Regions from separate parts of the Homo sapiens genome. Here regions 2, 3 and 4 are each linked to region 1. The links are contacts of gene promoters, found by promoter capture Hi-C in blood cells and fetal thymus (Javierre and others, 2016). All regions are on one chromosome and are shown on one strand. The core of a region is centred on a gene start or on the middle of the fragment in contact, and the rest is flanking DNA. Distances in the headings are between cores, read along the strand shown.

Region 1 (3,680 bases), core at 592-3,091:
ACACAGCAATCACTCCCCACCCTCACCTTCGTTGTACCCCAGGGCCCAGTTGCTATCTCTAGGAAGGGCAGAGGCACCAGCCAATCTACTTGGCACCACATTCACACCACCAGGGGCCCCAGGGTTGAGGAAGAAACTTAATTAGTCACTATGGGCCTATTATACCCCCTTCTCTCCCCTGCACCCCAGTCACAGCCATGTATGCACACAGTATGTGGGAAGGACAGAGTCCTGGCTTTGGCCCACCTCCAGCCTTGGAAAGGTGGGCCTAGGGGACTACCCATCCCTCCTGTATAAGGAACTGTTCCAGAACTGGGTATGGCAAGGGGGCTGGGGGAAGAGCTTGTCACCAGCCAGAACCTGCTAGGAATCCCACTCTGCCCCATCCCCTCTGTCCTCCCAACAAGCCCTCTCTTCCCTCTTCCTTTTCACTTCTCATGAACACTGGCGCGGAAGTGGGGATTGTGTGTTATGGGTGTAAGAAAGAGAGACGCCCTGATGACCAGATGGAACTAGATGTGGGCACAGTTTTGTGGCAGGTTGTCCAAGACAGGTAAATTCTCCAGCTGAGGCTCCAGGATATGCCTGGTGTTGGCGTTATAGGCACAATGGCCACAGCTGTCTCCGGTGAGCTTTGATTCCACACAGGTTTTCAGTAGTGTCCCTTGAGGATGAGATGCAAAAGAAGAGGAGGTACTGGTTTGTGTTGAGAGGTAAGGGTGGGAGGAATCAGGAGCGGGCCCAGTCCATATTGAGAGGAGCAGAAAAAACAAATATTCCTGATCCATAGAGGGGGAGAGTGCAGAGTGGGGGTGGTTCTAGTCTTTATTTACGGATGGAGAGGGCCGAGGCAGAGGTTGTCCAGCTCTGTATTCCGCGTCAGAGAGAAGAGCTGACCCTGGCTAGGAGCAGGGGAAGGCAGAGGCAGAGATGGTCTTTGTGCCGGCCCCCGCACACACCAAGTAGGAGGTGGTGGCAGAAGCTCTCCCTTTGATCTCACCCAGCATCCTGCAGAGAACTCTTCCTGCAGCGCTTTCCTCACCTTCCCAATCACAGACGCCCCTGGCAATCGGGCGGACAGTGCAGACAAGGGCTTCTCCAGATCAGCGAGTTCACAGGACTGAGGCCTCGCGTGCATATTCATTCGCACCACGTTTTTTCTTTCCCAATTCTGCACACACAATCCTCTGCCTTCTTCCAACGCTCCACCACCCGCCTTCCCTCGGGGCGTCCGGAACCGGCGGTGACGCGGATGGCAGGGTTAGCCTTAAAAAGTTCCCGGCCGTAGGCTGGGCGCGGTGGCTCAGGCCTGTAATCTCAGCACTTTGAGAGGCCGAAGAGGGCGGATCACCTGAGGTCAGGAGTTCGAGACCAGCCTGGCCAACATGGCGAAACCCCCGTCTCTACTAAAAAATACAAAAATTAGTCGGGCGTGGTGGTGCGTGCCTATAATCCAGCTCCTCGGGAGGCTGAGGCAGGAGAATCGCTTGAACCCGGGAGGCAGAGGTTGCAGTGAGATCGCACCACTGCACTCCAGCCTGGGCGACAGAGTAAGACTCCGTCTCAAAAAAAAAAAAAAAGTTCCGGCCGGGCTCCGCCTCGCAGTCAGCCGGCTCCACCCTAAGCCCAAGTCCCAGGCAGCCACTGACTCCTCCCAGCGCTGCGAACTACAAGTCCCGCGATCCCTCGCGCGCTCCCTACCGCCACTCCCGCGTTCCTACCGGCGCCGCTGGGTAGGTCGGCCAAGAGTGCCTCCCATTGGTCTCCGCACTGTCAATCACCTGGGAGTATTGAGGGGCGGGGCGGAGGTGGAGATCCGGATCCGGAGCGGCTGAAAGGCGGAAGTGGAGGCCGGAGCCTGGGACACCGCCGGCGGGGAGAGAAGCGGATCCCGTCCGAGCCCCGGCCCCAAGTAACGCCGCCGCCCCGGAGCCGCCGTGAGTATGCTTGTCCCAGGACCTGGTGTCTCGCCTGCGTTGAAGCATCTCCAGGGCAGCCCTTCCTCCCGCCCAGCCCCAGTTTAGGGGGATACTGACCCCTCCCCCGACCCGTAGCCCCCTCTTGAGGGGCTCCCCAGGCGTCGGGCCATAGGAGGTGGGGAGCTTCTTTCCTTAGCTTACCTGCCTTTGGTGAGCCTTAAGGAAACCGCTATGACTGTCCTCTGGCCTGTCCATTCTAGTTGTGGGAGAGAGGTACCCTAAGTTCCGCTCCCCCTGCTTCCAGAATCGGAGGATCTTTGCTAGGTGTGAAGGAACCTGTCCCTCTTCTCTTTTAGAAGTGACAGGGAGTGCTGTCTGTCGCCGTTTTCCTTCCTCCTGTCCCACAAAACCAGTTGTCCCCTCTAGCCCTAGAGGAATATCTCGATTTCCTTTGGGGGAGGGGGGTCGTCTGGGTGAGACCGTTCCACACGCACAGAAGTGTGTGTGCGCTCCCGCAACTCCTTACTTCCTCTCTTTCCTCAAGCCAGAGAACCAACCAGGACCTCAGCTGAGTTTAAAGTCACTTACTAGAAATGAGCTGTTTTCCTGTTTTGCCCCTTCTGTCTCCCAGCCCTGTCCTCTAGTTATGTTGTTCTTTGAGTGTCTCTCTCTTTCTGCCTCTGAAGAATTTAGCTGAGGTTTGCTCAATCCTAGCTACAGATCACAGATCAGGGTGGATGTGCCCATTCATTATCTTCTTTCCCCTCCCCCCTTGCTCCAGGCTCAGCTCTGTCCTCCCAGAGCACGTGAGTGGTTTCCCAGCCGCCTCAAAGGGACTGCTTTTCTTGGGACTGCTGTCCGTGTGTCTATAGGGAGGAGAATAAGACCCAAAATGAGGAGTCTGGAATTGAAGGGCCATCTCTTTCCCACTCCCAAACACACACACATACACCTCCCTGAGCAACAGGTCCACACCACGCCAGGGTCTGTCTGCAATCCCTTCAGGGCTTGGACTTATTACTGAGGACTAAGTCAAGATCACAATGGCAGTTCTGGATTTTTAATTGTAGCCTGAGGAATTCCGATACATGCCAGAAAGTGCAGGTTCCCTCAACCATATTGACTGATCCTTGTCTGTTGCTTGGGGCTTAGGTGTGTGAAATAGCTGCTGTCTCAGACCAAGCTTTGTTATGTGGCCAAAGTACAGGCCGGAGACTGTACCTTAACGAGGAGTAGCCTGGCTCTGAGGCCATGACTGACCCTTGCTATCTACAGTGGAGGAAGGGACGGAAAGCCGTGCAGTTTGTGGGAACTTCTGTAGCTCTTCAGTGTTCTGGGCTACCTTTACCACCCTCGCTTGCCACTTAAAAGTGCTGTGTTTTTTGGCCTTGAGGTGTGTTTGAGGGCTTCTGGACAGTGGCTAGTATCTGATTCCTACAGTCTTTTGAGTAGAGCTAGGATGTACTTTCTTCACTTTTTTGTTTGTTTGTTTTTGAGATGGAGTCTTGCTCTGTCGCCCAGGCTGGAGTGCAGTGGCGTGATCTTGGCTCACTGCAACCTCTGCCTCCTGGGTTCAAGCAGTTCTCTTGCCTCAGCCTCCTGAGTAGCTGGGATTAACAGGCGCCTGCCACCACACCCGGCTAATTTTTGTATTTTTAGTAGAGATGGGGTTTCGCCATGTTGGCCGGGCTGGTCTCGAACTCCTGACTTCAGGTGATCCACCCGCCTCAGCCTCCCAAAGTGCTGAGATTACAGGTGTGA
Region 2 (3,680 bases), core at 742-3,241, 170 kb after region 1:
TAGGTGCGGGGAGTGGGCTCAGTGGGAAGAACCCGCAGGGCAGGCCAACTGCCACACTCAGTCCAGAGGGGACCCCTTGGAGAGGTCCTTCAGCTGAGAATAAGGTGTTGCAGACTTGTGGACCCTCCAAATTTTGGGAAGTGCCAAATTCCAAAATTAGACAGAAAGTAGTTTTTCTCTTAAACTTTGTTTTCTTGAAACTTTGATTTCCACTGAGTTGTTCTTTTACTCCCCACTTTAGATCGGCATAGTGGAGCCAGTGCTGAGGTTCAGAAGGAGGAGGAGAAGAAGTTCAAGGAAGTTGGAGAGGCCTTTACTATCCTCTCTGATCCCAAGAAAAAGACTCGCTATGACAGTGGACAGGACCTAGATGAGGAGGGCATGAATATGGGTGGTGAGTTGGCTGGGGCAGCCTGGGATGAATTTGACAGCTGTAGAATGTTAGAATTTTTTCCAAAGATGCTCCAGAGGGAGAGTCTATTTGGGCCAAATCTGATCCCTGGTCCAAACAGTAATAGACATGGAGTCAAACAAATGCAGTCAAATGTGGCAGGTTCACAGTGTGCAGTGAGCTCTGAGGAGGCGAGCACTAGCAAGGGAAGGCTTGGAAGTGCAGAAAAGCATGGCCCCATGGGTCATGCCTGTAATCCCAGCACTTTGGGAGGCCAAGGCAAGCAGATCACTTGAGGTCAGGAGTTTGAGACCAGCCTGGCCAACATGGTGAAACCCTGTCTCTACTAAAAATACAAAAATTAGGCTGGGCGCGGTGGCTCATGCCTGTAATCTCACCACTTTGTGAGGTCAAAGCAGGTTGATCACCAGGTCAGGAGTTTGAGACCAGCCTGGCCAACATGGTGAAACCTCGTCTCTACTAAAATACAGAAATTAGCCAGGTGTGGTGGTGGGCGCCTGTAATCCCAGCTACTCGGGAGGCCGAGGCATGAGAATCGCTTGCACCCAGGAGGCGGAGGTTGCAGTGAGCCGAGATTGTCCCACTGTACTCCATCCTGGGCGACAGAGCAAGACTTTGTCTCAATTAAAAAAAATAATAAGAAGAAAGAAAAAAGAAAAATTAGCCAGGTGTGGTGGTGCACACCTGTAATCCCAGCTACTTGAACCCGGGAGGTGGAGGTTGCAGTGAGCCAAGATGGCGCTACTGCACTCCAGCCTGGGCAACAGAGTGAGACTCCATCCCTCCCCACTAAAAAAGCAAAGCATGGCCTCTTTGGGGATCTGCAGGGGGCTTGGTCTAGGGAAGATAAAGGGATAGGGTGCTAGAGGCAGGTGGTGGTGGAAGGCCGGCAAGTAGCTGGATCAGAGCTCACAGGCCATAAGGGCTGTATGTGGTAAGGAATATGAGCATTTTCCTATTATCTGGAAGTTCTTTTTTACCCACTGCAAAGTGTATGCTGACATTTATGTATGTCATACATTCCTATAAACACTCACAGATTTTAATTTCCCAAAAAGATTTAGCATGATATAAAGCACACCTATTGTCAATATTGTTGCTCACTGTGGGCTGTCAGAGATAAGAGGCCCTGACCTGTGAGCTGGGCGCGGTGGCTTACGCCTGTAATCCCAGCACTTTGGGAAGCCAAGGCGGGCAGATCACCTGAGCTCAGGAGTTCAAGACCACCCTGGGCAACATACAAAATACCAAAAAAATTGTACTCTCTACTAAAATACAAAAAAATTAGCTGAGCATGGTGGTGCATGCCTGTGGTCCAAGCTACTCAGGAGACTGAGGCACCAAAAACTCTTGAGCCCAGGAGGCAGAGGTTGCAGTGAGCTGAGATTGCGCCACTGTACTCCAGCTTGGGTTACAGAGTGCGACTCCATCTCAAAAATTAATTAATTAATTCAGTCAGTCTTCACTCTAAGTTGTCTGCCAAAAAATTTGCTGGGCATGGTGGCTCACGCCTGTAATCCCATCACTTTGGGAGAACAAGGTGGGCGGACCACAAGGTCAAGAGATTGAGACCATCCTGCCCAACATGGTGAAACCCCGTCTCTATGAAAAATACAAAAATTAGCTAGCCATGGTGGCGCACGCCTGTAGTCCCAGCTACTTGGGAGGCTGAGGCAGGAGAATCGCTTGAACTCGGGAGGCGGAGGTTGCAATGAGCTGAGATCGCACCACTGCACTCCAGCCTGGCGACAGAGCAAGACTTGTCTCAAAAAAAAAAAAAAAAAGAGGACCTGACCTGTGAATGGTGAACAGACCTACCATCTCTTCCACTAAGAAAATCTATTGGGATTTTGTTTTTTGTTTTGTTTTGTTTTTTGAGACGGAGTCTTGCTGTGTCACCCAGGCTGGAGTGCAGTGGCACCATCTCGACTCACTGCAACCTCCGCCTCCAGGGTTCAAGTGATTCTTCTGCCTCAGCCTCCCGAGTAGCTGGGACTACAGGTGTGCGCCACCACGCCCAGCTAATTTTTGTATTTTAAGTAGAGACGGGGTTTTACCATATTGGCCAGGCTGATCTGGAACTCCTGACTTCGTGATCCACCCACCTCGGCCTCCCAAAGGGCTGGAATTACAGGCGTGAGCCACCGCGCCCGGCCTTTTTTTTTTTTTTTTTTTTTTTAAGACTGAGCCCAGTCTGGGTGCAGTAGTGCCATCTTGGCTCACTGCAACCTCTGCCTCCAGGGTTCAAGCAATTCTCCTGCCTCAGCCTCCTGAGCAGCTGGGATTACAGGCATCCACCCCCATGCCTAGCTAATTTTTATATTTTTAGTAGAGACAGGGTTTCACCATGTTGGCCGGGCTGGTCTTGAACTCCTGACCGCAAGTGATCTACTGGCCTTGGCCTCCCAAAGTGCTGGGATTACAGGCGTGAGCCACTGTGCCTGGCCTTCCATTGCAACTTATTTATTTATTTAATTTTTTTTTGTTGTTATGTTTTTGAGACATGGTCTTACTCTGTCACCCAGGCTGGTGTGCAGTGGTGCAGTCTCAGCTCACGGCAACCTCCACCTCCCAGGTTCAAGAAATTCTCCTGCCTCAGCCTCCTGAGTAGCTGGGATTACAGGCACCTGCAGCCACACCCGGCTAATTTTTATATTTTTAGTAGAGACGGGGTTTCACCATGTTGGCCAGGCTGGTCTCAAACTCCTGACTTTGTGTGATCCGCCCATCTTGGCCTCCCAAAGTGTTGGGATGACAGGCGTGAGCCACCGCACCCAGCCGGAATTTAAAATAAGAATGATGGTACTATATAGATAATGCTGAGTCCTCTCCAGTTCAGTGTGGGGGTATTTGTGTTTAATAAACCTAGGTTCACCACAATAAACATGTTCCTCTGCCTAGCAGTTAAGAAGATCTATAAGCAGTCAAAAACTAGTGAAGAGGTTTTGTTTTGTTTTGAGACGGAGTCTCACTCTGTCGCCCAGGCTGGAGTGCAGTGGCGCGATCTCTGCTCACTGCAAGCTCCGCCTCCCGGGTTCACGCCATTCTCCTGCCTTAGCCTCCCAAGTAGCTGGGACTACAGGCACCTGCCACCACGCCCGGCTAATTTTATTTTATTTTATTTTTATTTTTATTTTTTTTAGTAGAGACGGGGTTTCACTTTGTTAGCCAGGATGATCTCGATCTCCTGACCTCGTGATCCACCCACCTTGGCCTCCCAAAGTGCTGGGATTACAGGCCTGAGCCACCACGGCCAGCCGTGAAGTTT
Region 3 (3,680 bases), core at 501-3,000, 150 kb after region 1:
GGGATTACAGGCGTGAGACATTGCGCCCAGCAAGGTTATTTCTGAAAAACAAAGAAATACATTTTAAAATAGCAAAGGAGACCATGAATGGGATGTCTTCTCTGAAGGCCAGGGCTTCCAGTGTGCTGATCCTGTTGTGAGAGATCCTCCATGCATCCAGAGAGGACAGATTTTTTTGGAAAACCTTTCAGTAGCTGTTTTCATGCAACTTTATTACTGTCAGTTAAAATGAAAAGACTGGATTGGTGGAGGTGGAGTCATTCCCAGCATCTCTTGGTGAATCAGAGCTGTGAAGCTATTCTGCTTAGAAGTTGACCCAAGGATTTGGTGGGAGAACTGGATAAATTAGTTTTAATCTAAAAGCCTTGACACTAACAGGATGTGGGGGAAAACATAAACTTCTAGGACTTAGGAGACCTGTGCAGCCATCTTGGTTGCCTCACTAGCTCTTCCTCTGTTGGAGGATAGGTGAAATTATTGCCATAACCACCTCAGAAGGCCATTTGAAAATCTTGGCCAGGCGTGGTGGCTGACGCCTTTAATCCTACTAGCACTTTGAGAGGTCTAGGCAGGCGGATCATTTGCAGTCAGGAGTTTGAGACCAGTCTGGCCAACATGATGAAACCCCGTCTCTACTAAAAATACAAAAAATAGCTGGGCATGGTGGCACATGCCTGTAATCCCAGCTACTCGGGAGGCTAAGGCGAGAGAACACTTGAACCCAGGAGGCAGAGGCTGCAGTGAACCGAGTTCATGCCACTGCCCTCCAGCCTGGGCAAAAGAGTTAGACTCCATCTAAAAAAAAAAAAAAAAAAAAAAAATTGAAAATCTTCATTGGAAATGCTTCGAAAATCTGAAATAACACTAGAAATATATTGTAGTTGTTAATAGTACCATCAGGTCAGTTATGGCCAAGTCTATATTTTGCTGTGGTATTATATTTAAGAGTTTAATCTGAATTTAATTTTGTAGCCACAGAAAATAATCTGTAGTTTAATTTAGTGCATTGGGAATCCTTTTTTTTTTTAATTGGTCTAGGTGAAGCCAATTAATCCTAAGTCTTCTTTTCTCAGTACTGGTGTGTTTCAGTAGGTGCATGTTACAACCTCACTTGGCTATCAGATGAATTGACCCTGGCAGTGAGTGAGTGACAGATGCCACCACCAGATTGCCTTCAATTCCAGTGTTAACCAGCTCTTCTCCTTTTTTTCCAGTCCCACGCCTTTGACATCTCATCCTTCAGTCCCTTTGCTGTAAAGGCAACTTGAACAAGCTTCAGCCCTTTCTCAGACTTCCAGGGCAGGACTTGAATGGATTTGACACTGGAATTGTTCCTGATGCAGCCTTGTTCAGTTCTTGCTGCTGCCATGCTGGATTCCAAAGATCCACTCTTTCCTCGACTGGTCTCGCAGGGTCAGGCCCACTGGTTAAAGCTTGTTGTGTATTTGGTGGGGAGGTTCAAAATGAAGGAGGGACTCCAGTCCACTTTGGGCATTGGACCTGAAGGCAAAAAATAAGCGTTCAGTCTAAAAGCACTAAGTGCCCATTGTTTAGGCAGCTGTTAATCAGCCACGTTTCTATGAAAATAAGTCCTTTTCATGAGGCAGTTGTGTGGGAATAGCTAATTCTGGCCTGATGCTGTGCAGTGTGAGGTTAAAAACATGGCAACTTGTCACAACACAATTCTTCTTGTTCTTTTTGCTGTGGGCTGACTCTACATTACTTGCTTTGTTTGCTCTAGAATGGAATCTACTCACCATTTACTAAAATGAAATGCATTTCTTTGGGGAGGCAAAGTCCAGTTCACTAGGTCTTGCATCTTAAAGAGAAAGGAGCCCTGCTTCCTCTATGACTAATTGTTAGGAATGTCATTTAGCTTATTTAAATACCGATTTTGGTTCTGGGGTTGAATATTACATGTGGGGTGTACTGTGTGTCTTAGTTTAAACAAATTTATATGTATTGTCCATGTCTTACATATATTGTCCATGTCTTACTCCTCGTAGTACAGACTAATTTTCAAAATAGTTAGCAGTAAGCGGAGGCAAGCATTAGAGAGAAAGCTTGGCATAGTAGAAAGTGCACAAGCTTTGTATTCTGACAAACATGGGTAACATCCTGACCTCAGGCAAGTTATTTAACCCCCAGGCCTTATTTCCTCTTTTGAAAAATGGGAATAATGAAGTTCACCGGACTGTGTTTTATAGAGGATACTGTATGGAAAGTACCTGGCCTCAGTAGTTATTAGTAACTGTCCACCAAAATCATCCTTTGCATTTTTTCTAGAAGCCAGTCCTGAACTCCCCGACCTCCATAGGGGTAGTGTCTTAGGAAGGAGGAGACTAGGGGCACCTTTCAGCAGCCCTGTACATTATTTCACTTTCGACTAACAAGCTTTATACTGCTGACACAGTGTCTCCCCAGGTACCTAGATGTCTTCGTTTTCCTCAAAGATTTGTATATTCTTAGCCACTAGCCAACTGAAGAAGAGGCTAGATCTTCTCTGATGGAGTTTGGGCCTAATGTCTTACTTTGGAATTTGCTACTCCATTTCTTCACAGCAGTTTGACTAATCGAAATCCAGTTTTGGGGAAGTCCTTTGTTCAAATCCCTTGGCATGTCTGCTCTTAAAGGATAGGCTCCTGAGAGTTTTTATAAGCACTTTGCTTAATTTAGAGTTACAGGATGGTGAATACCATGTAGCAAGATTTCAGTTGGTTCTTTAAATCTTGCAATTGGGGGATCTTTCTTGAAGATTTTTCATAGCAGAAGGCCTCTTTTCAGCATTGTGATAGTTGGTATAGACAGTTACTCAAGCAGATTTATATCCATCACATTTCACAGCTGTCAGCATTTATAGGTCATTCCCATTTGCCTTCTCCTTCTAGCAGCCTTTTCATATTAGTAGGGCTTGCCAGGACAGTGATGGAGAAGAATGGAGAGGGAGGATCACCTCAATAAAAGGAGGGCGACTTTACCAGTTTGTAGTTTAAAATACTTAAGTAAATCACAAATCTCCCTAATGCAGATATCCGTAGACTCAAGCTGTAAATTGCTGTACCATCACCAAGGTTTAAGAACTAGGACTTTTGCCTCAACTTCAGGCAACCCCGAACTAGGTTCTTTTTTGCATGTGAACAACAGGAAAAGAAAGATGTTTCTCATAACAAAAATGATCAGGTACTTAGTTAATGTTGCAGTAATCATTTCAGTAAAGAATTATCTTTATCACTTGAGCAGTGGAATGATTTTGAGTATCTTGATAGAGGTTACTAGTTCTTTTAAAACACTGTTGGTCATGTCTGATTTGATTCTAGGTACTTGCTCGGGAATCTAATTCCCAATTATATAACATTGTTCCTTTAGGACAAAGTTTAGGAAAGTATACTTTGTCTAATGGCACAGTTTCAAAAAATAGATCTTAGAGGTAGGGAAAAAATACTGCTATCACCCAGTTGCTGAATATATAAGGTACTGGAGGGAGTACAAAGAGGGCAGCAAGTACCTACATTGTTGTGATGGGAAGAGGGAACACCAGTGGATGGGTGCTCCTTATAGTATGGCACTGGCATCCTGTACCTCATATGTCCCTGTCATCCACGGTCTTAGTCTCTGCTGTCACTCAGCTCTGTTCCTGTCTTAAACACCAACATGCTATGCTTTTAACTCTTTTGCCACCT
Region 4 (3,680 bases), core at 471-2,970, 130 kb after region 1:
GGTCAGGAGGGGAGAGGGTGGGCTGGGAGGGCCAGATGGGGGGGCTGCGGTGGGGCAGGAAAAGAGGCCACCCTGCAATGAGGCTGCTGGGCAGTGACAGAGCTAGGCCTGGGAACTGGGATCTGCGCAGAGGAATTTCCGGGGAGGTGGGTTGGGATAGTCATCTTAGGGGCAAGAGTGAGGGGTGGGCGTGCATCTCCTAGAGACCATCTCTATCCCGTAAATCCTCCTCCCTTCTCCCATGCTGAGACTTTCCTCCCTCTGGACAGGAAGACAGGTGGTGGAGAAAGCCCTTCGGAATGAATGTTTGGGGGTGGGAAGGGAGGAGGATTTAGGTTTGGAACTCTAAAAGGCACGCTTTCCCTGCAGCAAAAAGCTTGAGGATGGGCCCCAGGGAGGGGGTGGGGTTTTCTGGGGTGGAGACTGTGTCCATTCCTTTCTTTTCCGTGTAGTCTAAACTGGCCTTGCAGAAGCAACTCACCAAGACGTTGGCAGCCCGCTTCCTGCCCAGCCCGCTCCCCACCGCAGCCACTGCCATCTGTGCTCTGCCAGGGCCCCTGGCCCTCCGCCCTGCCCCTACAGCAGCCACTACCCTCTTCCCGGCTCCCATCCTGGGCCCAGCTCTGTTTCGCACCCCAGCAGGAGCTGTCCGCCCTGCCACAGGACCTATCGTCCTTGCCCCTTATTAGCCCTCATGGGGAGGCCAGAGCTGATTTCCCAATAGCCACTCCTTGTCTCCTCCTGTCCTGAGACACCTTGGTTTCCTACATGCCACAGGGACTGTGAACAGCTTCAGGGGTCCTGCCCGATCCAGAAAGAGCTGGGCTAGTTTTAAGGGCAGCTGCCTTCCAAGGACTGTCCCCACCCTCCTTTCGCAGGCCTTCCAGGGTTAATCCTAGGCTTGCCTGCATTTCCCACCCTGACAGACCCCAAAGATCTATGCAAAATCTCAGCCCCAGCCATGTGGTGCTCTCACTTTCCTCCACCCAAGACCCACATGGCCAGACTCTAGGAATCTTAGCTTCTACAAGCCATCCTCTCCTAGCCAGGGGACGACTCTCTGACCTCTATTCCTAGGCTTTGGGGCTTCACTGGAGATAGGGATGGGGTCTCTAGCTGCAGCAGGCTCAAGGCTGTCAGGACAAGGTGACCATGGGAGTGTGACAGAGGACCATGGAGGAGAAAGGGGGACCCAAAAGTCCTTCGATCAGCAGTGCTAAGGTGGGGCAGAGCCAAGGAGGTAGTGGGGCTGGTTCTGAAAGCTTTTGGGGGCTTCATCTGCTCTGAAGGGGTGGGACTAAGAGAGGAGGTGATGTTCTGGTTGGGCCCAGGGTTTTGTTTTAATCTTAAGTCTTCTGGGCATTCATGGGCCCAGTCTTTTTTTCTGTCTGAGAGTATCATTCTGTTGCCCAGGTTAGAGTGCAGTGGTGCAATCTTGGCTCACTGCATGCAGCCTCTGCCTCCCTGGTTCAAGTGATACTTGCTGATAAGCCCAGTCTTAATATTGAGGGAGTAACTCATCCCTCAGAAGCTCTTCTTCTTAGCCTTTCTCTGACTTCCTGAACCCCAACTCTTGGAGGGCGGGTGTGGGTCTCCCTCAGACTATGGACTCAGCTAACACCGAACCCCCCGCAGAGCTCCCAAAGGAAGAGCTTTCCCCTACAGCTTCCCACTCCAAACTGGTCCTAGCACTAAATTCAGCTTTCCCTTCTCCCAACCAGCCCCTGCCACTGTGAAGCTGAGTGTTGGGAGGCAGTCTCACATGCACTGGCAAGACCCATTTTCATGCTGTCAATGTCAATGTCACAAACTCCTTTCCACTGCAGCACTGCCCCCTCCCCACCCCACAATATGGGACCCTGCCAGTATCCCCCTGTATCTTTTTTTTGTTTTTTAAAGACATTTCCAATGGGAGAACCAGAAAAAGGGGGAGGGGAGGGAAACTTTTTGATAACAATTGTGGTTTTATTGTGTCCAACCAATGCATCAATAAATGAACTTGAAGCCCAAGCCTGTGTGTGTCCTAATTCCACTCACCCAGCCCCGGGCACCTGCCCCACTCACCTCTGGCTTTGAGAAGGGGCGTGTGTCGGTGGTTGCCTGGCTGCAGTGTCTCACCTAGGCTAGGTGTGCACCTTAGAAGCACAAAGCGGGCACAGTTGTGGGTAATAAGCTTACTCTGCAGGCCGCTGGGTGTGTGCCCACCCTCCTGAGCCCCGAAAGAGGACCTGTCAGCTCCTGAGAGGCTGCTACGGGTTTGCCTTGTTCTGTTCAGGCATCTGAGGTAAGAAGGAGGGGCCAGAGGAGCACCTTGTCCAGCCTTCACCATGAGAGCGGGCATATAAATATAAATACAGGTAACTTATAAATAGAAGTCCAGCTCTGAGCTGAAAACCACAGGCAGGATAAAGAGCAGCCTCCAAGAGCGAGGCTGGCGGGCTGGGCACTGAGCGGCCACTCTGGTGACTGACAGCAGGTAGTGCACTCCTGCCCCCTGGTGGCTGGAGGGAGCGGCAGATCCCAGCCTCCAGGGCTGGTTGGCATAGCACCTTAAAGAGGGAGAAGCCATTGGCTTTACGAAATCAAGAGAACTGGAAAGGATCTAGGAGATCATCTAAGCAACTCTGGTCATCTTACAGATGAGAAACTGATGCCCAGAGAGGGGAAAGGTCTTGCTGGGTCACAAAGTGGGCTGGTGACTCATAGCCCAGTTATTCTATTCCATCTCAACCAGTGAGGCCCATCTGCTCCCTGAGCAGGAAGAGGAAGTAAAACAATTGGTAGGGGTGGGGAATTTTTTTTTTTTTTCTTCGAGATGGAGTCTTGCTCTGTTGACCAGGCTGGAGTGCAGTGGCACGATCTCGGCTCACTGCAGCCTCCGCCTTCTGAGTTCAAGCAATTCTCCTGCCTCAGCCTCCCCGGGTAGCTGGGATTACAGGCATGTGCCACTACGCCCGGCTAACTTTTGTATTTTTGGCAGAGATGGGGTTTCACAATGTTGGCCAGGCTGGTCGTGAACTCCTGACCTCAAGTAATCGACCCGCCTTGGCCTCCCAAAGTGCTGGGATTACAGGGGTGAGCCACTGAGCCCAGCCAGGGGTGGGGGATTTAAAACAGAAAACTACACTCCCAGGAGGCCAACTTCTTCCAGCCAAGAAAAGGACAGGAGAAAGGTCAGGGTGAGGGATGAGGAGACGCCTAATGCCAGTATAGGAGCATATTTGTGTGTGCACAACTAAATGCATACACACAATACCTGGACACCCTTTTTCTGGAGTCCAGGCTGGTGCCATAAGTGTGTGTGTGTCGCTGATGGGAAGCCCAGAGGGTGGGGCCCCTACCTATAATAGGAACTCAGACCCAAGAAGGGACACTGCTGCGTGGTGACTCTGCTTCCTGTCTGGGGCAGCTGGAAGGGACAGTGACCCACAACTGCCCCAGGAGACAGTGGAGCAGATCCTCTAAAAGCTGGGATGGGGAGTAGGCTGGGAGGGCTGAGGAAGGGGATGTCAACCAAGAGTATTTGCACTTCCCAGAGGTGAGAGGGAGCAAAGTGGCTGGGGCGTGGCCTGGCGGGGAGCTCCCTGGCTGACTGGGAAAGACAGCTTGTCCTCTACTTTGCCCTCAACACATCTACCAGAGCCCCAGACACTGAAATGGGGCTGGGATCGTGAAAGAGG

The links. The method cuts DNA at HindIII sites, captures the fragments that hold promoters and counts their contacts. A CHiCAGO score of 5 or more calls a contact.
Region 2: a fragment that was not itself captured here is called in contact with the fragment with the promoter of RAB5C in region 1 in 1 of 17 cell types (monocytes); the score reaches 6.0 in monocytes.
Region 3: a fragment that was not itself captured here is called in contact with the fragment with the promoter of RAB5C in region 1 in 3 of 17 cell types (erythroblasts, fetal thymus and monocytes); the score reaches 5.8 in erythroblasts.
Region 4: a contact is called between a fragment that was not itself captured here and the fragment with the promoter of RAB5C in region 1, in 5 of 17 cell types (fetal thymus, monocytes, erythroblasts and 2 more). The highest score is 8.1, in fetal thymus.

The regions. Positions count from the first base shown.
Region 1 is chr17:42,153,150-42,156,829 of GRCh38, reverse strand. RAB5C (RAB5C, member RAS oncogene family) reads left to right here and starts at 1,841. Exons shown (of 6, transcript NM_004583.4): 1 at 1,841-1,937. It overlaps RAB5C-AS1 (RAB5C antisense RNA 1), which reads right to left and starts at 2,430. Exons shown (of 3, transcript NR_187282.1): 1 at 2,121-2,430; 2 at 1,722-1,831; 3 at 1-1,062. RefSeq lists enhancers at 1,573-1,682, 1,565-1,859, 1,769-2,389. The HindIII fragment of the contact is 7,588 bases long and covers 1-3,104 here.
Region 2 is chr17:41,978,569-41,982,248 of GRCh38, reverse strand. DNAJC7 (DnaJ heat shock protein family (Hsp40) member C7) reads left to right here. Exons shown (of 14, transcript NM_003315.4): 12 at 242-394. Among named protein-coding and RNA genes, the nearest start is that of CNP, 14 kb to the right of the region's middle. The HindIII fragment of the contact is 4,055 bases long and covers 1-3,680 here.
Region 3 is chr17:42,001,092-42,004,771 of GRCh38, reverse strand. All of the region lies in intron 1 of DNAJC7 (DnaJ heat shock protein family (Hsp40) member C7), which reads left to right. Among named protein-coding and RNA genes, the nearest start is that of DNAJC7, 15 kb to the left of the region's middle. The HindIII fragment of the contact is 630 bases long and covers 1,436-2,065 here.
Region 4 is chr17:42,023,906-42,027,585 of GRCh38, reverse strand. NKIRAS2 (NFKB inhibitor interacting Ras like 2) reads right to left here. Exons shown (of 4, transcript NM_017595.6): 4 at 1,945-3,680. ZNF385C (zinc finger protein 385C) reads left to right here. Exons shown (of 9, transcript NM_001392013.1): 9 at 453-2,010. The coding sequence ends at 689. Among named protein-coding and RNA genes, the nearest start is that of NKIRAS2, 5.7 kb to the right of the region's middle. RefSeq lists an enhancer at 2,600-2,649. The HindIII fragment of the contact is 911 bases long and covers 1,265-2,175 here.